Linked DNA regions of Homo sapiens: regions 2, 3 and 4 are each linked to region 1. The links are contacts of gene promoters, found by promoter capture Hi-C in blood cells and fetal thymus (Javierre and others, 2016). All regions are on one chromosome and are shown on one strand. The core of a region is centred on a gene start or on the middle of the fragment in contact, and the rest is flanking DNA. Distances in the headings are between cores, read along the strand shown. Region 1 holds the start of CABLES2 (Cdk5 and Abl enzyme substrate 2). Region 2 overlaps LOC105372717 (a long non-coding RNA gene). Region 3 overlaps TCFL5 (transcription factor like 5). Region 4 holds the start of TAF4 (TATA-box binding protein associated factor 4).

The links. The method cuts DNA at HindIII sites, captures the fragments that hold promoters and counts their contacts. A CHiCAGO score of 5 or more calls a contact.
Region 2: a contact is called between a fragment that was not itself captured here and the fragment with the promoter of CABLES2 in region 1, in 1 of 17 cell types (neutrophils). The highest score is 6.3, in neutrophils.
Region 3: a contact is called between a fragment that was not itself captured here and the fragment with the promoter of CABLES2 in region 1, in 1 of 17 cell types (neutrophils). The highest score is 6.1, in neutrophils.
Region 4: a contact is called between the fragment with the promoter of TAF4 here and the fragment with the promoter of CABLES2 in region 1, in 1 of 17 cell types (neutrophils). The highest score is 5.2, in neutrophils.

What each region holds. Positions count from the first base shown.
Region 1 is chr20:62,403,222-62,410,008 of GRCh38, forward strand. It overlaps CABLES2 (Cdk5 and Abl enzyme substrate 2), which reads right to left and starts at 4,064. Exons shown (of 10, transcript NM_031215.3): 1 at 3,694-4,064. The coding sequence starts at 4,055. LOC105372709 (a long non-coding RNA gene) reads right to left here and starts at 3,673. Exons shown (of 2, transcript XR_936967.3): 1 at 1,669-3,673; 2 at 1-303. RefSeq lists a silencer at 3,981-4,230. The HindIII fragment of the contact is 20,791 bases long and covers 1-6,787 here.
Region 2 is chr20:62,868,677-62,875,463 of GRCh38, forward strand. LOC105372717 (a long non-coding RNA gene) reads left to right here. Exons shown (of 4, transcript XR_936989.4): 2 at 6,097-6,245; 3 at 6,366-6,501. It also overlaps the pseudogene ARF4P2. Among named protein-coding and RNA genes, the nearest start is that of TCFL5, 10 kb to the left of the region's middle. RefSeq lists an enhancer at 6,658-6,787. The HindIII fragment of the contact is 6,367 bases long and covers 1-6,238 here.
Region 3 is chr20:62,851,935-62,858,721 of GRCh38, forward strand. TCFL5 (transcription factor like 5) reads right to left here. Exons shown (of 6, transcript NM_006602.4): 4 at 5,461-5,704; 5 at 2,082-2,223. Among named protein-coding and RNA genes, the nearest start is that of TCFL5, 6.5 kb to the right of the region's middle. The HindIII fragment of the contact is 5,585 bases long and covers 1-5,156 here.
Region 4 is chr20:62,061,873-62,068,659 of GRCh38, forward strand. It overlaps TAF4 (TATA-box binding protein associated factor 4), which reads right to left and starts at 4,009. Exons shown (of 15, transcript NM_003185.4): 1 at 2,579-4,009. The coding sequence starts at 3,938. It overlaps MIR3195 (microRNA 3195), which reads left to right and starts at 2,930; the gene lies at 2,930-3,013. LOC105372705 (a long non-coding RNA gene) reads left to right here and starts at 4,582. Exons shown (of 2, transcript XR_936960.3): 1 at 4,582-4,819; 2 at 5,070-6,663. RefSeq lists enhancers at 1,699-2,212, 2,213-2,727, 2,728-3,241, 3,242-3,756, 4,785-5,298 and silencers at 3,690-3,779, 4,040-4,149, 4,410-4,789. The HindIII fragment of the contact is 9,555 bases long and covers 1,222-6,787 here.

The DNA.
Region 1 (6,787 bases), core at 2,814-5,313:
TCGCCCCCAGAAGACAGGGTGAAGTCCTAACCCCAGTACCTGTGAATGGGACCTCGGATGGAAAGAGGGTCTTAGTTGAACTGTGTCGCCCCCTGAGGGTCTTAGCAGATGTCATCAAGTTAAGATGTCACAGGTTAAGTCCTAATCCAATGACTGGTGTCCCTGTGAGGAAATCACCACATGGAGACACAGACACGCAGGAACAGTGCGGCACGGAGGCGGAGGCAGAAACTGGAGCCACAAGCCCGGGAGTGCGTGGAGCCACCAGAAGTGGGAAAAGGCAGGAAGGATCCTCCCTGGAGCCTGCAGAGGGAGCGTGGGTCTGTCCACACCTTGAGGTTGGGCTTCTGGCCTCCAGAGCTGGGAGAGGCCACGCTGGTGCCGTAAGCCACCGGGTTTGGGAGGAGGGGGCGGCGGGGAGGAGGCTGCAGGCGGAACACCCCAGCACCTGCTCAAACCCAGCTGGGGAGGCCCAGAGTTCCCACTTGCTTTTGGGCATTAGGCAATGGCAAAGTTAAAAGTGAAAATAAACCTGGTTGGAAGTTCTATGAGGAAAACAAGGATTCTAATGATTCACTCACTGGTTCAACACAAAGTGCCACACCAGGCTGAGCCTCCCTGGGAAAGAATAAGTATTAGGACCGAGAAGTTACTGTTCCCTGAGCAGCCTTGTTGTAACAGGAGGCTCCATTTGACTGGGTGTGGCGGCTGCCACCTGAAATCCCAGCACTTGGGAGGCCAAGACGGATCACGTGAGCCAGAGTTTAAGACCAGCCTAGACAATATAGTGAGACCCCATGTCTGCTAAAATAAAAACTTAGCAGGGTGTGGTGTGTGCCTATAGTTCCAGCTACTGGGAGGCTGAGACAGGATAACTCGAGCCCAGGAGGTAGAGGCTGCAGTGAGCTGTGATTGCGCCACTGCACTCCTGCCTGGGAGACAGAGAGAGACCCTGTCTCAAAAAAAAAGAGGCTCTGCTCATCTCACACTGACTCCTGCCACATACCTCACCAAGCCCTGGGCACGCATCTGACCTCTGACCTCAGGGAGGCCATGCTTAGTGCTTAGTGTGAACCCGCTTCTCAGAGGAGATTGAGGCTCAGAGAGGCCATGTCACCTGCTCAAGGTCACAGAGGTACTGAACAGTGCAGCTGGGATTCCAAGCCAAGTCTGTTCCCAGAGCCCAGGTCAAACCACCACACTCACAAGACCAACATCAGGGCTGCCTTCAGGACTTTCAGAATTCTCTCCATTTCCTGAAACCAACTCATCCTAGAACTCTCAAGCCAGGAGCTAGCAGCCCCTTTTGCCGGGGCAGCCACCCTTCCCTCGATCAGCAGCCAGGCCCAGGGAACGCAGGGTGAAATGGACGTCCTCACGCTGGGGTCTACCTATCAGGGAGGGGCCATGGCCCTCAGAAACAAGGTCAGCACCACGAACTTGGCAGCAGAGCCCCAGGAGGGACGCCTCCCCCTCCAGGAACAGAGTGGGGTTCAGGAAAGACCTGAACAGGGACATGGGGGCCAAGGAGGAGGGAAGGGAGGAGACAGCCCTGGGCAAGGCAAGGGGTGGTGGCGCTTGGGCCCATGGTGGGTACGGCAGGAGGACTGCAGGCACCCAGCCCATGCCACGTCCCATCCTGTCCCAGGGATGCCGGCCACAGCGCACCTTCTAACAATCCCACAGGGCAGGGATGTGCTGCACGTGGGCAGCATGCTGCGCTCAGAACTGTCACCATGGAGGCTCTGGGCCTGCAGGGGGTGCCTTCTCAGTCACAGGCACTTCCCTGCGCGTCGCCACGCTCTGCCTCCCTCCACTCAAGTGGGCTCCACTCCACGCCAGGCCTGGTGCACACAGGGGTGCATGAACTCTGTGGAAGGAGGGCCTATGACAGCACCCAGTCTGCCTGGTGTCACCATCCGGTTCTGGACACTCAACATGCAGGACTGAGGGAGAAAGCTGTTTCCATGTCAAACAACAGGGCCCGGGGTTAGGGAAAAGCCCACCACACCTGCGGAGCTCGGCCCGTTGGGGTGAGCCCGCTTCCCCTGGAGTCCACACCTTAGGGCCTTGCCGCTCTGCCCTGGAGAGTCACCACCTTGTTCCATCTCTCCCGCCTTCCTGAAGGAGCTGGCCATGCCAAATGCATGGGGCCTGGCTGCCACATTTGGGCAAATCCATCCCTCTGCCCCAATCATCCCTCTGACCCTCCCTGGAGCAGCGGCCAGGCATGTCCGTGGGGGGACATCTTGTGGACAGGCCTGGGTCTGCAGGCACCCTCAGCCTGGCTACGGCCAGGAACACTTCCAAGGATGGAGTGCACCGCGACCTGCGTGTGACGCAACCTGCATGTGACGTCATAGTCTTTGAGGACAGAGTGCTGTGTTCTGGGCCCAAACTTCCCCAACCAAAGACCTTAGAGGAACCCAATGCCTCCACCTGCCCGAAGGCCAGGGGCGTGGGGCAACTCTGATGACCTCCAGGTAAGCAAGGAGCACGTGCCAGCCTTGACCCAAGAGCTCTGTGTCGGCCCCTTTGCTGCACACCTGCAGGGGCTGCCTCTGGGAACAGCCGCCCAGCAGGCACTTGGACCTGTGGACAGTGGCTCCCTTTGAGAAGGAACCGCAACAAGCAGCCAGTCCTGGGCCCAGAGCCCACAGTCACTCCTGGAGGTGAGGGCTGTGGGAGGCAGGGTCACCCAGGTCCTGTGGTCTCTGGGAGAAGGACACAGGGTGTCGGGCAGCCAGGGGCCATCTGGGCAGGGGGCACACGCTGGACAGGCAGGGCTCATGGTTGGGGTTGCCCTGGGATGGGCTGAGGTGGTTCCCAGAAATGGAATCAAGGCAGGGGGAGCAGTGGAGACCCAGGGTGTGACAGACCCAAAGATACCGAGCTGAGAGTGATGTGGGGAAGGGCGGGGCTCAGCAGGGAAGTGACAGGGAGAGGAGGGGTGCCAGAGACCAGTGGCTGTGGGATGGGAGATGTGGCTGTGCAGGGGCCTCTGGGAACAGGTGTCAGTGACAGTGCCAGGAGGACCCCGGCCCACATGCTGGGTCTGAGGAGGTGGGCATGGACGGTGTGGCCCGGTTCAAAGAATGCGAAGAGATGCACAGGGCTGTCCATGTGTCCCTGTGTCCCGGGCACTGGTACCAGTGGATGGGGGTGGGGGCATGTCCAGAACCCACAGGGCTGGGGGTCTCAGGGGTAATAAGGGCTGAACCCTAAAACCCATTTCAGAGCACTGACAACGTGGAGATCCAGACCCCGTATTCAGGGGCTGGGAGAATTCAGGGGACAATGAACCCTATGTGTGGGGGGTGACAGGGCCTGAGGAAACCCTCAGCCAGCCCAGGAACCCCCAGTTCTGTATCCAGGACTGACAAGGTCCCAGGTGAACCCAACCCCTGTGTCCTGGGCTGATGAGGGCCCAGACTGACCCTGACCCCTGTGTCCTGGGTTGACAGGGGCTCAGGTCACCTGAACCTCTGTCCAGGGCTGACAAGGCCCCAGGTGAACCCAACCCCTTTGTCCTGGCCTCTGTCCAGGGCTGACAAGGCCCCAGGTCACCTGACCCCCTTGTCCTGGGCTGATGAGGCCCCAAGTAATCCTGACCCCTAGTCCTGGGCTGATCCGGCCCCCGTCCCCGTCCCTGTACCCCGCGTCCTGGGCTGACCTGGCCGGGCCCCCACTCACCTCTGGCGCTGCCCATCCAGGCCGAGGCCGGTGGGCACCTGCGTGGGGCTGAGCAGGCCCTGGGGCGCGGGGGTCCTGGCGGGCAGCCCGGTGGGGGGCTCCGGCGGCGGCGGCGCTGGCGGTTCGCGGGCCTCGGCGGGCGGCGGCGGGGGCTTCTCTCCGCCCGGGCCCAGGCTCGGGGGCCGCCCGTCCAGGGAGATGTTGTTGAGGAAGAAAAGCGCGGCCTGGCGGCGCCGCGAGTCCCCGCGCCTCCGCAGCGCCTGCGGCGGGGCCCGAGCGGCCGAGGTCGGCGCGGCGGGTGGCGGGGGCCCGGCGGGGCCGGGGGCCGGGCCCGGGGCTCCACCGGCCGCGGCCGCGGCCATCCTCAGACTGCGCCCGCCGCCGCGAAGCGCCCCACCCCCTGCCCGCGCGCCCGCGCGCCCGCCGCCCATTGGCCGCGGCGCGCCCACATGCAAATGTATCGCCGTCGCGCTCTCCCATTGGCCAGCGAGGTGCCGCGCTCAGGGCGCTCCCCTGGGTCCTAGAGGCGGTCGGACGCAGCAGCAGGGAGTCGGGAGCTGCGCGCCTCCCCGCCGGTTCGAGTCCCCGTCTTGGGACCTGCGGCCGCGGGGCTCTCGCTTTCTGTTCCCTTTGCTGTATGGCGGCCTTCGCGGATGGCCTCCATCGAGCGCACATTTTAAGGCTCCGGACCCAGGGCGGCGTGGGTGAGGCCCCAGCACACTTCCCTGTCCGGAGGTGTGTCTGGGCGGCGCTTCAGCGGGCGCAGGGCGGCCCCTGGAGGAGCCCCACCGCTTCCCGGAAGGGCCCGCGTGCCATCTGGCCTCCTTCATTGACAGAAGGGAACGAGGGTCTGAGTGGAGAAGGCACCTGCTTGGGATCAAAGCCCCAGGCAGAGTCCTGCACTTCCTGCAGTAGCAAAGTGACCTTGAGCCTGCCTTGTGCCCAGGCCTGTTTCCTCTCTGTGCCTGGGTGCCCCTGACTTCAGAACCTGTGAGCCCGTGGCACCGGGATGGTCAGGGCCTGCCTCTGGAGCCCGGGAGCCTGTCTGCAGTCTGGAGGGGAACCCGCTGTATCTTTGTGGAGGGACTCAGGACCTTGCACCCACCTCTGTGTCACCTGCCTGCTCTGTCCAGCTTTCTTTCATGGGTTTACGTATCTTTAAAGAGGGGACAATGATTTCAGCCTCAGGGTACTGTCAGGATGAAACTGGCTCAGTGAGGGGGTCGGGCTGTGGCCGGAGGCCAGGCACATGCAGTGGTCAGTCCGCGAATGCGCTGCAGTACCTCGCACCTGCCCGCATGCGCCCAGCCTCTCCTGTGCTGGGTGCTGGGGACCCGGTGGGACCGACAGGCACAGCGCTGGCCCTAGGAGCACCTGGTGTGTGGGGAGGCAGCATGATGGCCAACAAGGCAGTGGGCGAGTGGGCAAGACAGGGTCTTCATCACCACCCCTAGCATGGGCCCCTGCCCTTCAGGCCCCTACCCACCTCCCGCCTGCCTGCTCCCTCCTGTGGGCCTTCACGGGCCACCATTGGGGCTCACGCAGCATGCAGCACCTCCATTTCCTTTCCCTCCGCCCTTCCAAGTTGGCCTCCAAGGCCTCTGCCAGGCCTAGGGGAAGGTGGGCAGCTGTCCTGTCTAGGAGAACGCGGGGCTGGGTGGCATAGCAGAGGGGTGGCTGCGGATTCTGGATCCACAGAATGGGGTGCTGACTTGTGTGCCTGGGGGCTCCCGTGAGCGGGGAGTGAGTGTGTCCAGCGCTGTAGGGTGCTGAGGCTGGGGCAGGCACACAGTGGGCCCTCCATCCCTGCTGGCTATCACCAGGAGGAGGGGCCTGACAGGGGAGGGTGGGCCATACACCAGCAGCTTGCAGAGAATCTGGTGTCAGATGAGAACAGAAAGGGGCGAGTGAGGGTGGAGGGCAGGACGCAGGAGGCAGGAGGCAGCTGTCCGTGCTGGCTGCAGCGCCGGGTCCTGGGGATCGGCTGTGCAGTAGGGGGGCCCCTAGCCAGTTCTTCTTTGCTGGCGCTAAGCTAGACTTTGAGGGACAAGGAGGAATGCTGAGGAAGGAACGGGGTCTCTTCCTGGGTCTGGTGAACCCCCTTGCTAGGCTCCCGCTGCCAGTCTTCTCCCCTCCCCAGGGTGTCGATGGGTGGCCAAAAGCCAACCTGGCCTGCGGGCAGTGTGTAGGGAACACACGGCTTTTGTTTCGTGTGATTCTGGAGAAATTAAAGCAACCTTTAACACACCTGGACTTCCCTCTTGGGAGTTCAGTCCCTCTGGCCTCTCAGGACAACAGGCAGACATGTCACAGGCTGCAGGTGGGAGGCAGTGCCCCCTGAGTCAGGCCCGCACCCCAGTCTGGCCCAGGCCTCACCCAGCCCAGTCGTTGGCCCGTGTCCTGCCATCCCTGTGATGCGTGGTTTTAAATGCCCAGCTCACCTTGGTGCTTTGGCTGCAGAGGGCCCTGCTCATGAGTTTCGCTCCTTATTTTCTTTGGCTCTCACCCTGAACTCTGAGCAGGTGTCAAGCGCAGGGCTCTGTCTGGATGCTCCTGACTGCAGGCCTGGCCCTTGGGCTGACTTCTTAGTTTCCCCCTTGCCCTGGCACCCCTCCGTGGCCCCCACCTTTCCTTTCTGCCTGATCCTTGTCCATTTTTCTAGAGTTGGGGTCTCAGCAAACTTCCCAGAACATCCTAGCTCCTTGCCTACTTGGCACACTCCTGTTCATCCCTCAGAACCCAAATTTGGGTTGCAGGTGCCACCTGCCTTGACCTCCCAGGGACACCTGCTCTCCTCCCCGTCCCCCAACACTGGCCATGACTTGGTGCCATTGCTCCTTTGCCCACCGCTCCCTGATGCCCAGCAGAGGTGTCAGTGCCCAGTGTCTCTGCCCTGTAAGGGGCAGTTCTCAGACTTCACATTTAGGAGAATTACCTCTGGGAGCTTCTTAAAACACAGACTCCAGGCTCACCTCTAAAGTCCTGGTTCAGTGGATCCGGGGTTGGGCCCAAGAATCTATTTCTTAAGCTCCTCCCACGAAGCTGGGAGGGACTGATACTCATCCTCCCCCGAGGAGCAGACAGCCTTGAGTGC
Region 2 (6,787 bases), core at 1,805-4,304, 460 kb after region 1:
AATAGATAACTTTATTTTCTCTATATCTGTTGATAAAATTGAACTGGTAATTAAGGACCTTCTCATAAAGAAAATGCCTCTAACAGATGTCTTCACGAGCTAATCCTACTAAACATTTAAGGAAGAAATAATACCAGTTCTATTGGTAATACGAACTCTTCCAAGAAACTGAACAGGAGGGGATACTTTCTAAAGCATTCTATGAAACAAACATAACTCTGATATCAAAACCAGACAAAACAGAACTACAGAGCAATATCTGACAGGAGCAAAGATGCAAAAGTTATTTTTATTTTTATTTATTACTTTAAAAAAAAGTTTCAAGAGACAGGGTCTTGCTCTGTCACCCAGACTAGAGTGCAGTGGTGTGACCATGGCTCACTGCTGCCTCAATCTCATGGGCTCAAGCGATCTTCCCACCTCGGCCTCCTCAGTAGCTGGGACCACAGGCATGCCAGAATACCTGGCAATTTAAAAAAATTTTTTTGTAGAGACAAGAGCCTTGCTATGTTGCCCAGGCTGGTCTCGAATTCCTGAGCTCAAGCAATCCTTCCACCTCAGCCTCCCAAAGTGTTGGGATTACAGTTGTGAGCCACCATGCCCAGCCCAAAATTCTTTTTTTTTTTTTTTTTTTTTGAGACAGAGTCTCACTTTGTCACTGAGACTGAAGTGCAGTGGCACGATCTCGGCTCACTGCAACCTCTGCCTCCCGGGTTCAAGCAATTCTCCTGCCTCAGCCTCCCAAGTAGCTGGGAATACAGGCACCCGTCACCACACCTGGCTAATTTTTGTATTTTTAGTAGAGACAGGTTTCACCATATTGGCCAGGGTGGTCTTGAACTCCTGACCTTGTGATCCACCTGCCTCGGCCTCCCAAAGTGCTAGGATTACAGGCATGAGCCACCCCACCCAGCCCAAAATTATTTTTAAATAATGTTAGCCCTGTAATCCCAGCGCTTTGGGAGGCTGAGATGGACGGATCATTGGATGCCAGGAGTTCGAGACCAGCCTGGCCAACGTGGCGAAATCCTGTCTCTACAAAAAAATACAAAAATTAGCTGGGCGTGGTGGCGGGCACCTGTAATCCCAGCTACTCAGGAGGCTGAGGCAGGAGAATTGCTTGAATCCGGGAGGCAGAGGTTGCAGTGAGCCGAGATCGTGCCACTGCACTTCAGTCTCAGTGACAAAGTGAGACACTGTCTCAAAAAAAAAAAAAAAAAAAAAACAAAACTTAGAAATAAATTTGATGAAAGATGTAAAAGACTGTACACTGAAAACTACAAAATACTGTTGAAATAAATTAAAAAGATGGACAAATATAGAGATATACTATGTTCATGGATTGGAAGGTTCGATAGTGTTAAGATGTCTGTTATTCCCAAAACTGATGTATGCAGTTCCAATAAAAACCCAGCAGTGTCTTAGTCCATTTGTGCTGTCATAACAAGACACCTTAGACTGGGTCACTTATAAACAACAAAAATGTATTGCTCCTAGTTCTGGAAGCTGGAAAGTCCCAGATCAAGGCACCAGCATATGTGATGGCTGATGAGGGCCTGTTCCGCTCAGATGCTGCCTTCCTGCCACATCCTCATGTGGCAGAGAGAGAAAATCAGCTCCCCCAGGCCTCTTGTAAAAGGGCACTAATCCCATTCATGATGGCTCTCCCGTCATGACCTAGTCACCTCCTAAAGGCCCCTCTTCTTATTTTTTATTTATTTATTTTTTTGAGATGGAGTCTCGATTTATTGCCCAGGCTGGGGTGCAATGGCATGATCTCGGTTCACTGCAACGTCTGCCTCCCGGGTTCAAGCAATTCTTCTGCCTCAGCCTCCTGAGTAGCTGGGATTACAGGCACGTGCCACCACGCCTGGCTAATAGTTTTGTATTTTCAGTAGAGACAGGGTTTCACCATGTTGGTCAGGCTGGTCTTGAACTCCTGACCTCAGGTGACCCGCCCGCCTCGGCCTCCCAAAGTGCTGGGATTACAGGCGTGAGCCACCGCACCCGGCCATTGTTTTAAAGACCCCTCTTCTTAATGCCACCACAGTGCAGATTAGGTTTCAGTATGAATCTTGGAGGGATACAAACTCAGACCGCAGCAAGCAGGGTTTTTTTTCTTTCTTTCTCTCTCAAATTCTTGGAAGGTTGAGCAGGGCAGGGTCACCAGGCCTGCCGGCAACTGCTCCCCTTCCTCTCATCCTCCTGTAGCTTCTTGGACTCCTGGGCCAATTGATTTTTCTGTTCCGTGATGTGGAGTGATCAAAGCTGGTTCTGGGTTTTCTGGAGCTGGATCTTTGATTGCCTTTGATTTAAAAGCATTGGTAACCGTTTCTCACGGGAAAGAGGCGCTGATAATTCATGCAAATGAGCATCAATGGGCAAAATTCAACCAAGTGCCTCTGGAACCAAGGCTGCCATTGAACATTCTAGTAAAAATGGGGTGGAGGCTTTTGCCCAAGTGCTCTGGATAATCTGGGAAAAGAAAATGGTGAGTCAGTGCTTTATTTTATTTATTTATTTATTTATTTATTTGTTTGTTTTTGAGGCGGAGTCTTGCTCTGTCACCCAGGCTGGAGTGCAGTGGTGCGATCTCGGCTCACTGCCACCTCTGCCTCCTGGGTTCAAACGATTCTCCTACCTCAGCCACCCAAGCAGCTGGGATTACAGGCACATGCCACGATGCCTGGCTATTTTTTGTATTTTTCTGGTAGAGACAGGGTTTCACCATGTTGGCCAGGCTGGTCTCGAGCTCCTGACCTCAAGTGATCTGCCTGCCTCGGCCTCCCAAAGTGCTGGGATTACAGGTGTGAATCACCGTGCCCAGCCGAATTTTTTTTTTCTTTTTTTTTCTTTTTAGATGGAGTCTCTGTCACCCAGGCTGGAGTACGGTGGCACGATGTTGGTTCACTGCAACGTCCGCCTCCTGGGTTCAAGCGATTCTTCTGCCTCAGCCTCCCGAGTAGCTGGGATTACAGGCACGTGCCACCATGCCCAGCTAATTTTTTTAGTAGAGACGGGGTTTGGGGTTTCACCATGTGAGCCAGGATGGTCTCGATCTCCTGACCTCATGATCCCCCCGCCTCGGCCTCCCAAAATGCTGGGATTACAGGCATGAGCCACCGTGCACGGCCTTTTTTTTTTTTTTTTTTTAAATAGAGGCAAGGTTCACCATGTTGCCCAGCCTTGTCTCCAACAAGCTCAAGGGATTCACCTCCTCACAGACAGTGCTCCCACAGGCGTGAGCCACCACGCCCCACCTTATTTATTTTTATGTATCTTAACTTCCAAGGTGGATTTATTTAAAGGTTTTACAATAACTATGTCCAGGCTTTAGGCTCATGGGAAGTAAATGAGGACACCTTTTTCCCAAGAAGAATTTCTTTAAAACCAAGCACATTGCTAAATAACAACATTATATTTGGCAAACAATAATTGGCAACAAAATAAGTTTATTATTCTGCCCAAGCCAGTCCCAGATGCTGTTTCTTAACCAAGATACAAACAAATTTTGCTGTAGCAAGTCTAGACCAATTTTATCAAACATGTCTTTGGTTAGATGTCTAGTTTCATTTAACGTTTTGAAAACTCATTTGACAGCCAGTCAAGTCCCTCATCTACACCAGCTCCGTGTTGCACAAGTGGCTTGAACATACCATGTCCTGTTAGGAAGAGACTGAAGAGCTGGCTGGCTCATCTGTCGTCACACTGATGGCCCGAGCGCTGGGCAAACCCTGTTTGTTTGCAGAGAGCAGTGGCGCTGCGTCTCCACACTCACCGGCCAGAAGCCTTTTCTGCAGCGCGTCCGCCACTTCCCGAATTCTTTCATGATCGTTGCTATCTACCAGCAAAAGAAAACCCTGGGTATTCTGGAAGTAATGCTTCCAGAGAAGCCTAATTACATCTTGACCATGAACATCCCACACCATGAAACAAGTGTTCTCTTTTTGAGTCAGAGTCTCGCTCTGTCATCCAGGCTGGAGTGCAATGGCGCAATCTCAGCTCACTACAACTTCCACCTCCCGGGTTCAAGCAATTCTCCTGCCTCGGCCTCCCGAGTAGCTGGGATTACAGGAGCCCACCACTATGCCTGGCTAATTTTTGTATATTTAGTAGAGACAGGGTTCCACCATATTGGCCAGGCTGGTCTTGAACTCCTGACCTTGTGATCTGCCTGCCTCGGCCTCCCAAAGTGCTGGGATTATAGGCATGAGCTACCGTGCCTGGCCCAAAACAAGTGTTCTTATATTCTACTCTTTCCATGTTAAAACCAATGGCAGGAACTGTGGTGAGTACCTCCCCTAACTTCAGTTTATACACAATGTATAGGCAGCATCCAATCGAACCGTCCAAATGTGCATCTGCTTCTTGCTGAAGAGGCGGGAGAAGAGAGAGGAGATGGCGGGGACCATGGGTTCGTGGCACTTGTGATGGGCAGAAGCAGAGGGGCTTGGGGGGCCCTGTGCTTTCTTCTTTCATGCTTCCAGGCAAATTGAACAAGGGGGAAGAGAAAGAACTGAGGAAGAAAGAGGGAGGCAGGGACATCTCACTGGCCCATGTGCTGGTGAAGCTGTAGACAGGAATTAGCAGGACGAGGACCTGCTGGTGATGGACACAGCAGCTCCAGCTCTCGATGCTTTAAATGCCTGGCTTGGAGTCTGAAAAAGGAACCTGAAAGCCTCTATGACTGCCTTAAAGTAAGTCCTTATCTCCTGTAGCCATGGGGCTGAGATTTCTGCAAAGCAAACCTGAAGCCTAGTCTCCTGGATGATTTAATTACAGCCTAAACTGCAGTTTCGACTTTGCAGTGCCTCTTTTGTTAAAGTTAGGGAAGTTGGGAAAGAATGGGAACCTGACGTTGCAATGGGGGCATGTGGGCGGCAAGCCACCCAGGTGCCGAGGCAAGAGACCGAGGGCACGAGCTGTTCCAGTGTAATAAAATATATAAAACAACAAGAGTTATACCAGATACAGATCATAGACATGATTATATATGAATATCTTTCATCATTAGTTTGTAGCAATTACTCTTTATAATGCTTGCTCTATAATCATAATCTAGGAAAAACCAGGCCATACAGAGACAGGAGCTGAGGGGACATGGTGAGAAGTGACCAGAAGACAAGAGTGTGAACCTTCTGTTACGCCCGGACAGGGCCACCAGAGGGCTCCTTGGTCTAGCGGTGACGCCAGCGTCTGGGAAGACGCCCGTTGCCAGACGGACCGTGGTCTAGCGGTAGCCTCAGTGTCACGGAAAAACACCCGCTACTTAGCAGACGGGGAAAGGGAGTCTCCCTTTCCCCGGGGGAGTTTAGAGAAGACTCTACTCCTCCACCTCTTGCGGAGGGCCTGACATCAGTCAGGCCCGCCCGCAGTTATCCGGAGGCCTAACCGTCTCCCTGTGATGCTGTGCTTCAGTGGTCACGCTCCTAGTCCGCCTTCATGTTCCATCCTGTGCACCTGGCTCTGCCTTCTAGATAGCAGCAGCAAATTAGTGAAAGTACTGAAAGTCTCTGATAAGCAGAAATAATGGCGTAAGCGGTCTCTGTCTCTCCCTCTCTGTCTCTGCCTTGGCTGCCAGGCAGGGGAGGGCCCCCTGTCCAGTGGACACGTGACCCACGTGACCTTACCTATCACTGGAGATGACTCACACTCCTTACCCTGCCCCTTTTGCTTTGTATCCAATAAATAACAATGCAGCCAGACATTCGGAGCCACTACCGGTCTCTGCGCATTGGTGGTAGTGGTTCCCCGGGCCCAGCTGTCTTTTCTTTTATCTCTTTGTCTTGTGTCTTTATTTTTACACTCTCTCGTCACCACACACAGGGAGAAGCCCACCGACCCTGTGGGGCTGGTCCCTACAGGGGCATGTGGGAAGATCCCAGTGAAGCTGAGGACCACGAGCCCTGCAAGTCCATTGGGATCTGCCGGTGAACTCCGCAGGTCGTCTTTGAAGGCACATGTGGCTCTTCTGCCACTGCCTGGGGAGCTGAGACCCCTTTGCCCAAAGACCCTCAAGTGCCTTCCCTAGGGAGCTGCCCTGTAAGGTGCCGCCGTCCTGCCCGGGACTCACCACCACCTCTGTGTTCCTTCTAGACCTAGATCCAGACTGGAGTTCCAGCAGGCCCCAAAAGAGAAAGTGTGAGGTGTGGCCTACAAATATGTTTCCCTACGAAAACCTGCGGAAAATGTGTGGAAATCGATGTTGAGAGTGCGGGATCTGGGTGGGAGGAATATAAGCTTGCGTAAGTGGACAGGGACTCAGATACGAGATTCTGGATTTGATGCGTTGGAGGGAACGGCTGGGAGTGACCCACCCCCCACCCCCATTTTCTTCATCAGTCACCGAAACTTTCGCCCCACAGGTAGCTGACCCTAAATTCAGTGAAATCCAGAACTTTCCTGGCACACTGGAGAGGACGGCAGAACGCTGGGATGGATTTATCGTGCAAGACCAGCTTGATGTCCTTAGGGCTTGGAGGTCACCCCTTCACGAGGATTGTGAGGAGTGAATTCATCGGGGAGCCCCGCACCCTCACCTGCACCCTCACCCCCACCCCCACCCCCACCCCCACCCCCACCCGCACCCCCACCCCCACCCTCCCCCCCACCCGCACCCGCACCCCCACCCTCACCCGCACCCCCACCCTCACCCCCACCCTCACCCCCACCCTCACCCCCACCCCCACCCTCACCCGCACCCCCACTCGCACCCGCACCCCCACCCTCACCCGCACCCCCACCCTCACCCCCACCCTCACCCCCACCCTCACCCCCACCCCCACCC
Region 3 (6,787 bases), core at 1,114-3,613, 450 kb after region 1:
AGTAGCTGGGACTACAGGCGCCACCACGCCTGGCTAATTTTTGTATTTTTAATAGAGACGGGGGTCTCATCATGTTGGCCAAGCTGGTCTCGAACTCCTGGCCTCAAATGATCCACCCGCCTCGGCCTCCCAAGTGCTGGGATCACAGGCATGAGTCACTGCGCCAGGCCTGGGAGCCCTTCTTGGAAGAGGTCCTTGTTTGTTGCAGCAACCTTAGTTTGTTCTCTAGTCAGACTCCTGCCTGGGTCAACAGCAGCAATTCCCCAACAGCTTGGACCAGGTACAAAGTCAGGACCCTGTGGATCTATTTCACTAAGGTCTGCTCACTCCTAGAGGGCCAAAGAGCCACTGACCCTGGCCACTGCAACGCTGAGGCCGGGACCTGGAACTCGGGTCCCCCAAAGGCAGGGCCCAGGACCCTGGAACTCGGGTCCCCTGAAGGCAGGGCCCAGAACCCTGGAACTGGGGTCCCCCCAAGGCAGGGCCCAGAACCAGCCCTGTGACTGACACCTTCTTCCTTTTAGGCCACTGAGGGGCTGACTGAACTCCTGCATTCAAATCACACGTCTAGTTCCAGCCAACCACGATGGCTTGCTGCAGGCCACTGCCACGACCACACAGACAGGATCACGGCAGGCTGGCTGTCCTGAGGGACTGCATATGCTGGCGCTAACACGCCGGCTCCTCCCTAGTCACCCAGTCCACAGAAGTATATTCACCCGGTCCACAGAAGTATATTCACCCGGTCCACAGAAGTACAGTCACCCGGTCCACAGAAGTATATTCACCTGGTTGACAGAAGCATAGTCACCTGGTCCGCAGAAGTATATTCACCCATTCCACAGAAGCACGGTCACCCGGTCCGCAGAAGTATATTCACCGAGTCCACAAAGGTATAGTCAACCAGTCCACAAAAGTATGTTCACCCAGTCCATGGAAGTATAGTCACCCAGTCTGCAGAAGTACATTCACCCAGTCAGCAGAAGTATATTCACCCAGTCCGCAGAAGTATAGTCACCTAGTCCGCAGAAGCATGGTCACCCGGTCGGCTGAAGTACATTCACCCAGTCCGCAGAAGTATAGTCACCCGGTCCACAGAAGCATAGTCACCCGGTCCACAGAAGTACAGTCACCCGGTCCGCAGAAGCACAGTCACCGGTCCACAGAAGCATAGTCACCCGGTCCACAGAAGTACAGTCACCCGGTCCACAGTATAGTCACCCAGTCCACAAAAGTATAGTCACCCAGTCCACAGAAGTATAGTCACCCAGTCCACAGAAGTATATGCACCCAGTCCACAGAAGTATATGCACCCAGTCCACAGAAGTATATTTCTTATTAACCTGCTGGGCATATTTGAAGTCCAGATCAGACTATTTGACACTTATCTGCATTTTTGTTTCTCTTTCTTTTTTGGGGTGGGTGGGGGTGGGGCAGGGTCTTGCCCTGTTGCCCAGGCTGGAGTGCAGTGGTATGATCTCAGCTCACTGCAGCCTCGACCTCCCTGGCTCAATTGATCCTCCCTCCCAGCCCCCGCCCCGAGCAGCTGGGACTACAGGCATACGCCACCACACCAGGTTAATTTTTGTATTTTTTAGTAGAGATGGGGTCTTGCCATGTTGCCCAGGCTGGTCTCAAACTCCTGGGCTCAAGAGATCCTCCCACTTCAGCCTCCCAAAGTGCTGGGATTACAGACGTGAACCACTGTGGCTGGCCGGTTTTTGTTTTTCTATTCTTGCTTTTATCCCTTTCACAAGTTTTTCTGAGGGCAAATATCATGTCCTACACACCCGTCAGCCCCAGTGCAATATACCGTACACAGCAGGTGCCCAATTTGCTATCTGACAATTGCCTCTTCACAGTTATTTACACACTGAGTGTAACACATGTAGGCTGTGACTATTACTTTAATAAATGACAAGTTATATCATTAAAGAGCAGAGCTTTGCTCATACTGGACTTAGTATTTGATGTTAGATTCCAGGAAACAAAGGATAGTTTGAGTTATCCTTAGGAAAAAGGAGGGACATTGTTAAGTAAAATTTGTAAAATTCTGAAAATCTACCTGGCCTACCACTAACCTTTTTAAGAGAATCTCCATGTCTTTCCTGGATGTATTTCAGGAATGCTGTGGTCCACTGCAGAGTTGTGGCCTTGTCAGTCTCGGCATTGCAGAACGGCACTAAGAGATTCAACTCATCACAGCAAATGCGGATTCTGCGCCTATAGTCAAAACCCAAAGTCATCACCGAGAGAGACCGGAGCAAAACAAACATGTAAAAGGAAGCGTCTCCTGTAGTACTTGAGGGAACCAGAGCTCGTGCATCCTGGCCACTGAGTGCCACGGAAGCGCCTGTCACCACAGGAAGCCCCACGGCTTTGCCACGGCCTTGTCTACAGAGGCAGCCACTGCCTTCCAGAGGCCAGAGCATCCTCGGGTGCCCTTGGCGGCCCCATGACCCACAAGCTCCCTGGAGCTTTCCCTCTTTACTTCTCACGGGCCAGGTTCAAGTCTCTAGATTAGGGATGGCTCCAAAGCCCCTGAAACTGGAAGCAACATTTTGTGTCTGACACCTTCTTCCATTTGGACCACTGAGGGGTCCAAATTGGGCAGATAACTCTGTCATTCAAGACTGATATTACTTGCCCTTCACGGGCTAAATACCCTACCAGGAACTCGTGCACAGCTTTCTCCAAGGGGCCCTGATTCAGAAAGGATCACGGCCCAACACTCTGTTAATATTCTGAAACTTGGTCTTTGTAGAGATAAACAATTGGAGTCTTGTTATTAGACTATTTTTTAAACTTTTACATATTACATTCAGTAACATGCAAAGTCCTAAACAAGCAGATACTGAGCAACTTATTCAATATGGCCCTTGTTACTCACCTTCACACCCGTCTATTTAGAACTTTAATTAGAGACTTTGCCAGTAAAACAGCAGCTGGCATTTACTAGGTGCTTTTGGACTTCTAGACATTGAGCGAAACACTCTTTACACATCAGCTCACTGAACTCTAACCACAAGTCTACGCAGTAGAGCTAGAAGTCCAACTTTCAAACTGTCAACGTACGGTGTAAGGCTTTCCACATAGCAGGTACTCAATAAATGTCTATTAAATAAATGTCGGAGCAAAATGCCCTTCATAATTCACAGTAGGGTGAGGAAGGCCCTCAGTTAGTCCATGTGTATAAAAGTATCATAAAAAGATATTAGCTAGCTTTTTAATTTTCTTTCTTTGGGGGATGGGTCTCACTTTGTGGCCCAGGCTGGAGTGCAGTGGCATGATCACAGCTGACTACAGCGCTGACCTCCCAGGCTCAAGTGATCCTCCCACACCTCAGCCTCCCAAGTAGCTGGGGCGACAGGTGTGCAACACCACCACTACTAGTATTGTTGGTTTTTCTTTAGAGACGGGGACTTGCTATGTTGCCCAGGCTGGTTTCAAACTCCTGGGCTCAAGCAATCCTCCCACCTCGGCCCACAGTCATGAGCCACTGCACCCTGCCCCAGCAAGTTTGAATAGATCCCTTTAAAAGAAATTGCCATGCCAGGCGCAGTGGCTCAAGCCTGTAATCCCAGTACTTTGGGAGGCCGAGGCACGTGGATCACCTGAGGTGAGGAGTTCGAGACCAGCCTGACCAACATGGAGAAACCCCTCCTGTACTAAAAATACAAAATTAGCTGGGCGTGGTGACGCATGCCTGTAATCCCAGCTACTCAGGAGGCTGAGGCAGGAGAATCGCTTGAACCTGGGAGGCGAAGGTTGCGTTGAACCGAGATCGTGCCATTGCACTCCAGCCTGGGCAACAAGAGTAAATCTCCATCTCACCAAATAAAAAAATAAATAAATAAATAAATTGCCTTAGCTCAACATTCAACCTTGGAGCTTCAAACCTGAGTATTTGTCTCACTCACTGTTATTTATTTCCTGAACTTAAAGCAGAAACTGGTACACAGTACCAGTACTCGATACATTATGTAGTTAATTAATTATAGATTAGGGAAATATTCTATGAAAACCCAATTATAGGCCGGGTGTGGTGGCTCATGCCTGTAATCCCAGCACTTTAGGAGGCCGAGGCAGGCGGATCACAAGGTCAGGAGTTCGAGACCAACCTGGCCAATATGGTGAAACCTCATCTCTACTAAAAGGTACAAGAATTAGCTGGGCGTAGTGGCGGGTACCTGTAATCCCAGCTACTGGGGAGGCTGAGGCAGAAGACTCGCTTGAACCTGGGAGGCGGAGGTTGCAGTGAGCCGAGATCATGCCACTGCACTATTCCAGCCTGGGTGACAAAGCAAGACTCCGTCTCAAAAAAAAAAAAAAAAAAGAAAAAGAAAAGAAAACCCAATTATAATAGAAAAAAATTAACCACTCTTAATTCTACAAAGAAGGATACCACAAATAAAATCTACAGACAAAACCACTTAAATAACAATTTTAACCTCTTCCTTCCCAGCAATCTTAAAAGAACCAGGCAATAGCCAGGAGCGGTGGCTCACACCTGTAATCCCAGCACTTTGGGAGGCCGAGGCGGGCAGATCACGAGGTCAGGAGATCAAGACCATCCTGGCTAACATGCTGAAACCCCGTCTCTACTAAAAAATACAAAAAAATTAGCCAGGTGTGGTGGCAGGCGCCTGTAGTCCCAGCTACTCAGGAGGCTGAGGCAGGAGAACGGCATGAACCCGGGAGGCGGAGCTTCCAGTGAGCAGAGATCGCGCCACTGCACTCCAGCCTGGGCGACAGAGCAAGACTCCGTCTCAAAAAAAAAAAAAAAAAAAAAGAACCAGGCAAAACTTGCTGAACTCAAGCTGGCTGGTAAGCAGCAGTTACCAAAACAGCCTGACCACTCTCCTCAGAAAGGCCTGCAGTCAGGGCTGGCCCTTAGTGGAGTCTGCAAACCTAGATTCAGGGAGTTAAGAGTGCCCCCAGAACCTACACTGTGCAAACGATATGGCTGACACTGAACAACTGCTTTCCTTCTGGGAGACTGGACTGTGGTTGCATGCATGGGGGCAGTGCCTACGTGACACGCCCCTGGTCTCTAGCGAGCTTTCCTGGTTGGCAACACCTCACCCACGTTTTCAGACCACATGGCTGGGGGCATGAGGGGCAACCTGCCTGACTCCACAGGGCGCGCTCTTAGAAGCTTGCACCTCAGCTCCTGCCTTCTCCCCACGCGCCTTTGCTGATCGCACCTGGCATCCTTTCTCCATAGTAAGTCACAGCCTGAGAGTGACTGCATGCGGAGTCCCGGGAGTCCTCCTAGTGAGCCAGCGAGCCTGGGCATAGTCTGGGGGATCCTTGATCCATCTGGGAAAGCTAACGATGCTCCTACCTGCTTTATTCCCTCTGAACGCAGAAACGGCTAAGGATCACTCATCTGTGATAACCATGTATGACTAAGGTAATCATATATGAGTCAGCCTGACAAGCAGTCACACGTATTACCTTCTATCTCTTTCCATTCGGTTATGCCTCTCCCTACGTTGAGACCTTCCTCCCTGGGGCCCACTCTGGGCCTGCTCCCCCAGGTTTGCCTGTGAGGACTCCGAGGACTGCCAAGCGCCTTGTGTGGCGGTGGCACCTTCGCCCACATTCTGAATCTCTCCAAGGGCTCTTCGCTCTACATTTGTGTCCAACTGACGCATTCTACTCCGATTCCTCTTCAGTGCTTGTTTGCATAGCGCTGCTTCTTTGCGAAAGAAGAAAAAAGTGGTTTTTAATTTTGTATTCTTATCTCAATTAATGCTGAATACAGTTTTGGCCTTTTCAATCCAAGATATAAACATTATTGGGTAAGCAGCACAGAGAACCGAAACACAAAGAGATGTACTAATGCAGTTTTTCAGCATCAGCAGGGACCATGAAGCCCAAGCCTATTTTATACAACGAAACTGAACAAGAATCAATCATCACACTAAATACGTTTTCCAAGTGCTATGCAACCAATATGACCTCATCCAAAGCCCCTCTTTTTAATTAACAGGTGTTATCTATGAATACAGAAAACAAGAAGTTGTTTACTTTTTCTAAAGGTCAGAATGGAAAAAAAAAAACAACAACAACAAACCACCTGGACATATTTCCTCCCAAAAATATTTTCTTTATATACAATTATTCTAAGAACAAGAAAAAAAAACAATTATTCTAATATGACAGTATTTTTACTGCAATGCTCAGAACAAAACTGCAGCAGCGTGTGTGTGTGCCCTCGCCGCAGAAGTGGCTCTCCTCCCCAAAGCAGGAAGAAGTAGCGTCCGAGCTTTTCTGCTGCGTGACAGGCTATGCCACGTGTGCGTCAGTGGAACTGTATCCATCAAAGGACCACAGGCACGTGACTGGCAGGCGTGCTCATGTGCACGCGTATGCCACACAAAGCACCCATTTCAGAAGGATGATGAAGCTTTCAGCAGGAGAGAGAGGAATTCGGTCGTTTTGGTGATATTTTATTCCTTAACCTGAGTAGTCGGCACAGAGGCTGCTTTAATACTCATCTTTGTATCTTACAAATGTGAACATATACTTTGGCATAAAATTTTATAGGGAGGAAAAGGAAGGACTGACATGGGAGAAGGCGGTAGCTCTTCCTCCCCATCTTGTCTTCACCAACTCTTGGAAAGCTAAGTGTAAGGAGTGTTCTTTTTTCGGGTCACTTCACAAATCAGTTTCCCAGGGAGGAAGGGGCTACGCAGGTGTTTCCCAGGGAGGAAGGGGCTATGCAGGTGTTTCCCAGGGAGGAAGGGGCTACGCAGGTGTTTCCCAGGGAGGAAGGGGC
Region 4 (6,787 bases), core at 2,759-5,258, 340 kb before region 1:
CATGACAGCTACCTAAACCAAATTCAACATACCCGGTGTGCACTATGGGGCTGAAACACTCGGGCCTAAGGCTTAGCCTTAAAGACTTCAGGGTGAAACCTCTGTCCCCTCCCTTCTCCCACCCAAGACCTCCACGGAGGGAAGGCTGGGAAGGGCAGGCCCTTTCACACCCCATCCAATTGCCACCCGTCTGCTACTCCACTTGACACCCACATGCAGCTTTGAGAACCCTGCCCACCCCTAATACTCCCGGCTCCTCCTCAGTTTGCAAGACTGAGTTGTAATGAGAATGAGTTATTAACCAAGCAAGAGTTATTTTTATAAGTTACTTCCATCTTTGTTCTAAACATTTTTATTACGAAATATTTCAATGAAAACGGAACCAACTAGAACAATTTAATATTCTCTGATCAATCGATTACAGGAAGTAACCAGAGTATTTGCAATTTGCCATTCTGATTTACAGAATTAAGTTGTACTGTTCAAAAGAAGGTACTCTGGTTTGGGATACTGGTAGTTTTATTGATACTTTTTTTTTTTGCTTTGGTTATTATTGAAACAAATAACATAATCAAAATTCCTCATCAGTAGATCAACTGCAGGAGGCCATGAAGAGATGGGGTAAATCTCTCACTTTTTTAGATAGTAGCATTCGGCTCCTTGAAAGCACCGCTCTCAGCACTGCCACCCAAACGTCTGTGTGAGCTGTTCCTCTGTCCTCACACACAGGAATCACGCACAGTCAACACTCCTACAGTTGTTTTTCAAGTTGTCTCTTCATCAAACACACCCGACCCTAAAACTGATCTTAAAACAGAAGATGGAAGTGAGTCCCAGGATCACTCATGATAAACACAGCAGAGATGCCCTCTTCCAACCACGTATTCCTTCACCTCCTCCCAGAAGAAAGAGACAGATGAGGCTTTACCTCTGCAGTGGCTCAGAGCAAGAGGACCTGGCCAGCCCCACAAGACAGAGTCCAATACCTACCCAAAGGGGTGCAACAGGCACCTGGCCTGCGCTGAGACACGTGGGACCTCTGGAAAAACATTTTTATAAATAAAGCATTGTGACAGTTTACATAATAGATCACAGCCATCAAACATCTTTTTACAACGTTACTAAAGATCAGCCACGTTTCCTACTAAAAGGTCAACATACACATAACAGCAAAACCAAGCCTCTGGCAAAACACCCCTACAAACGCTTCAGTACCCCAAAAGCTTGTCGTAAAGGGCGTCTCAGCAACCCCGGGAAGTAGCTTCACAGCTCTCTTCCTCCCTGGAGCACTGCAGCCTAGCAGCCGCCCAGACAGGCTTTCCCCACCCCTGCCCTGTCCAGAGTCTGACCACCAGCCCCGAACCTCACATACTTGGACAAGAAATCCTTTCACTTCTGAAGATTCTGCAACCCTGTCAAAGTGACCAATAGCTCCATTCAGAGAGGGGACGCAGGAGGGACCCACGCTCTCCTTGCAGTTCCTACTACTGCTGCCACCGCGCTGCTACAACTGCACGGCACGCGTCACCACAGGCCGGGGAGGAGCTCCCCTGCCCAGCACCCACCACGGCGGCTGGGGAGGGACGGGGAGCCCCAGACAAAAGCAGCAATGCTGGCCAGGCAATCTTTCCTGTCAAACTTGAGGGGCCCTGAGGAGTCGCAGAGACAGCAGACTAGACAGGAGCGTGAGAACTGCCAGGCGGAAGTGGCGTCGGAGCCCCAGGCATCCGCAGCATAGCCAGTATCGCCCCGAGACCCCTGCACGGAGCGAGAACATCTGCTGCCACCGCCCTCCCACTGCCCTCCCGAGGGGGCAGCAACCAGAGTAGCTAGGCGCTCCTTCCTTTAGGCACCAACGCAGCTCTGGAAGAGACAGTGACACACACGGTGCTGAAACCCTACTCCACAGCGTGGCTCTCAGCAAGGCTGCGCGCCGGGAGGACTCTCGCAGGATGCGCCTGACATCTCTCCCTGCCTGGTGGCAGCAGAGGAGCCCAAGCCTTCCATCCAGAGTTCCCGAGCCTCAAGGAGGGGGCGTCGCGCCCCCGTCCTCGCCTGGAGACTGAAGAGGCTCGAGCCCAGGGTCACCAAGGGGCAGAAAGGCTAAGTGGGGACACAGGCCACACGCCTAACTGCAGAACTGAGCAGGGGACAGCTGCTGCCACTCACAGCCCCAGGTACTGCCCTCAGCTCTGCAGACCCCATCGCCTGGCCCAGGGAGCCCCTGCGCTGAGCCTACCAACCCGGGCAGGGACGCATAGGGCGGGAGCAGGTAAGGACCACTCCACTAAGAGTCCTGGCTGAGCCACTCCGAAACAGACCAGCCCCAGGCACAGGCAGCCAGCGCGGACGTCAGGGACAGCGACAGGGACGCAGGCTATGCCGACTCCCTCTGGCTCACTCGCAGACAGCCACCCGGGCTGGCCCCGCACCTGGGTAGAGACTGCCCCTCGGCCTGCTCCAGCCACGGGCCTACGGGACAGATGACCTTAGCATTCCACCAGCGGAGAACTTCCTGGAACTGGCAGCTGGCGCTGCTGGGAGCCGCCCTTCCCTCCCGCCCCGTGCGGCCACTCACCTGGGGGCAGCTGGAAGTTCTGGATGTTGGTCGGGTTCTGAGGCGGCTGCGGCAAGCGGGGGGCCAGCACGGTGGGCGTCAGGGTGGCCCGAATCCCGCTGGTGGTGGCCGTGGGCGTCCGGGACAGGCTCTGGGTCACTGCGCCGGCCGCGCCTTTGGGCAGCCCGGTGGGGGTCCCGGGGGCGGGCGGCGGGACGGCGGCCGGGCTGGGCAGCGCCCCTTGCATAGTTGGCCCGATGACCATGCTGGCCGCCGTGCTGGCCGGGCCGCTGGCCGCCAGGGTCTGCGCCGCCGGGGGCGCCGCCTGCACCACCCTCTTGGGCGACTCGGCCTTGACCCCCGGCGCCGGCGCCGCAGCCGCCGCGCCGGGCCCGGGTTGGCCGCTGACCCCCGCGGGGCCCCCGGCGGCCGGGGCGGGGGCGGGGGCTGCCCCGGCGCTGCCCCCGTTCTGGGCGGCGGCGGGGGGCGGCACGGCGGGCGCGGCGGTCGGGGGTCCGGCGGGGTGGCCGGGCGGCCGGGCCAGAGTGGCGGGCGCGGGGGGTGGCGGGGGCGGGGCGGCGGCGGGGGCGGCGGGCGCGGGGGCGGCGGGGGGCGAGGGCGCGGCGGGCGCGGGGGGCGCGGCGGCGCCCACGAAGGGGGGCGTCTGGATGACAGTGCCGGGGGCGGCGGGCTTGGGCAGCGGCAGCAGCGCGGCGGGCCCGTTGTTGACCAGGCTGACAGCAGGTGCGGCGGCGTGGTGCGAGTTCAGCAGCGCGGCGCTCCCATTCAAAGTTTGCGCGGCGCCGGGGCCGGCGGGCTTGCCAGGGCCAGGGCCGGGGCCGGGGCCGGGGCCGGGCCCGGGGCCGGGGCCGGCGCGGGCGGCCAGCGCGGCGGGGCCGGCGGGCTTGGCGGGGCCGGCGGGGGCGGGCTCGGGCCCCGCGGCGACGGCGGCGGCGGCGGGCACCGGGGCGCAGGACCCCGCGCTGCCCTCGGGCGGCGGCCTCAGCTTCGCGGCGGGCGGCGCGGGCCCTGCGGGGACAAGGGGGCGGCGCGGTGAGGGGGGGCCCGGGCGCTGCGGCCCCCCGCCCCCCGGCCGCGCTCTACCTGCGGGGGGCGGCTCCGGCGCCGCTCCGGGCGCGCCCTCGGCGGGGGCGGCCGGCCCTGCGCCCGCGGCTCCGGCCGGGCTGCCGCTCACAACATGGTTCCCGAGCGCGCCGGCGGCCGCGGCCCGCACCTCGGGCGTGCGCGGCGCGAGGTGGTGGTGGTGGGCCGCGCTGGCCGCCAGCTGCGACTCCAGCGAGCCCACCAGGTCGCTCACCACTTTCTCGTCCACCTCGCTGTTGAAGAAGACCTCGTCCAGCAGATCCGAGCCCGCCGCCATCTTTTTTCCTCGGCCGCCGCCGCCGCCGCCGCTCGGGCCGAGCGCGCCTGGGCGAGGAGGAGGTTCCGACTGGGGCGGGCGCTGGGCGGGCGGGGGGCGGCGCGCGGCCGGCGGGGGGCGGGGGCGCGCGGCCGGGGGGCGGGGGAGCGGGGGTGGCGGCCCTGCGCAGGCGCGGAGACCGCGGGCGCCCGGCGATTGGCTGCGGCGCGCGCTTAAAAGGCGCGGCCAATGGCTGCGAGCGCTAGAGGCCGGGGCGCGGGCGGTCGGCCGGGGTGCGGCAGCAGCGGCGGGAAGCGCGGGGGCTGGAGCTCAGGGGCGCGGGCGCCGGGGCGGTGGCGGACGGGGAGGGGGCCGCCGGGCGGGGCGCGGGATGCGGGAACGGTGCGCTGGGCCGGGCCGAGGCGGGCGCGGGGCGGCGACGGGGCCTCGCTCTTTGTCTCGGCTCGCTCCAAAATGGCTGCGGCGGCGCTGACGGGAGCGCCGGGCGGGCGCCGTGCGCGGTGGCAGCGGCGGCGCAGGGCCCGTCCGAGGCCCGGGGAACAGCGCGCGGGGATGCCGGGGCGCCGCCGGGCGGCGCGCAGGCCCTGGAGTGGATGGGCCTGGGAGGCGGGCGGGAACGGGGAGGGGACTGTCGCAGCGCGCCCTGGGGACGGGGACCGGCGCCCGGCCCCTCCAAGCCGCCGCGGGGAAGCTGGGTCCGCCTCTGGCTCAGCCGGTCCCGGGCGGTGGGGAGGGGTCCTGCGCGCACGGCTCTTCTCGCCCTCCAATCGTGACCACCCCTGGCCCTTCCCTCCATTTTTAATCAATAAACCCAGCCGCCCCGGGCTGACTGTCCCCGCACCCAGCTGCCTTGGAGACAGGAGTGTCGTATAAGCCCGTAGGTAAGAGCACGGTGCTTGCCAGGCGCCAAACGAAGTTCCCGAGCCTGAAGCCGGCACGTCTGGAAGTAGCTTTTTTTACCTTCTGCTGGGGGAGGGGAGTAAGTTACCTAAAGTGTTCCCAAGCACCTTCTCTCTAGAAATACTTCAGTAAAAGTTCCAGTCCCCTCTTTCTGCGTGTTTTATTTTCCAACCAAAAGATGGTGTTATTGGACATTTCTAGTGGTTTTCCTTTCTCTCATTTCTTCCTAAGAGCCCAGAATAGGTTTCAGAGAGACGCTTCCTTGCCTCGGACCTCACTGGGGCCAAGAGGCCACAGGGTCAGTCTTCGCAGCTGAAGACAGCGCCGCAATAAGCAGAGACCTCGGGACGATGAATGACGTTGCTGACAAAGAAAATGATTTTTTTAATTGCTTTAACAAAGGAGACTGCTAGTCTCGAAAGCAGACCCGAACTGGACCCTTGTGCCTGTTCGAACTGTAGCCTTGCAAAGGAATGGACTTACTGATAACTGGAATACGGGACTTCACCCCAGGCTTGTTTCTCGACAGCAGCAGCAGCCAATGAGCATTGAGGACGGAGCCTAGGAGAGGTGCCTCCCCTATAGGGGAACAGTGTTTGGGGGAAATCACTGCAAACGTACAGCTGGAGTTTTGTACCTGAACTTTGGCTCCCAGAAGGCAGGAAAGGAAATGAATGAAGCAAGCTGAGTATGGCGGGGAGGGCCCCTGTGGGTACACCTACGGAGCACCTTGAGCTCAGTAGGGGGACAGTCTGAGTTTTCCAGAAAGAACAGAAATATAAAGTGATGATTAAATCTCGGGATTTTTAATTTTTGAGTGTTGACAACTAATTAGAACATTTTTAAAGCAGGTCAAAGCACAGGCAGGCTAACTGGCCCCACGCACAACTTGCAAGGTGGGGCGCACCAGGCTCACTGCACAGCCCATACCCACAGACCCCTCAGATTGGAGTCGGGGCAGAAGCAGAACGCAGGACTCGCAGGAAACAGACCAGGTTCCAAGGCCCCCAGGGTCCCAAAGGCTGGGGTAACTGAAGGTTCCCACGCTCAGGCCTCCACTCTTCAAGTCCGCTGCTACTCCACTGAGATCTGTAATGAGTCTCCTGCCATCTACGCACAGTGGTGACTCCTCTTCTCCAAGGCCCCGCCAGGAGTCTTTCATTCCAACGTGTTCGCAGGATCTTCTGGGGAACCGTCCAGCCTGGCAGCTGCAGGAACTGCGAGAAGTTAAGGGTCTGTGCCCACCTATTCCAGCTTCCCTTGCAAGGAGGGTGTTGGGCACCAGAAGGCCCTGGGGAAAGTGGGAGCCGCAGACAGCCAGGCAGCTCTTCTATGTCTGGGGTTTGCAGGAGCACTGCCTTCCGGGGGGGGGGGGAGGGGAGGCGGGTGAGGACAGCACGTGACTTCCCCTCCTAATGTTCATGTGGTGGGGAGTCACCCTGGGGGCCTCCCGCCAAATTTTAGTATCTCTGTGATTTTAGTTGTTGCCCCAAGCAGTTAGGACTTGTGTAGTTTGAAAGAAAAATCTCACCCAGCATAAAAAGAGAAAAGGGGGAATTGTAACAAATGTTAATCATAAGCACTGTTTCAACCCGGAAAAATGTTTGCTGCCAGGCTGTGGGCAAAGAGGTGGCCTCGGCGGCTGGCAGCTCAGTGGGCCTTCCAAGTTTACTAAGCAGGGTCTTGTATTTTTAAATAAAATAGAGCATCAGACACGCTCACTTAAATATAAAAAATAATAAAAACAAGTTTTGAATTAAGTTTAAGACACATTAAGAATAAAACAAATCTAAGAATAAAGGGAATCAGTGATTTCCAAGCTGCAGGCTGTGTGAAAGTTCTGTGGTGTTTGTTAGGTGACCTGTGCTTTTATTGTCTGCCTGACAGCCCTCATCATAAAACAATTTTTTAAAAAAAAAGCCAGCGCCAGCTCACGCCTATAACTGCAG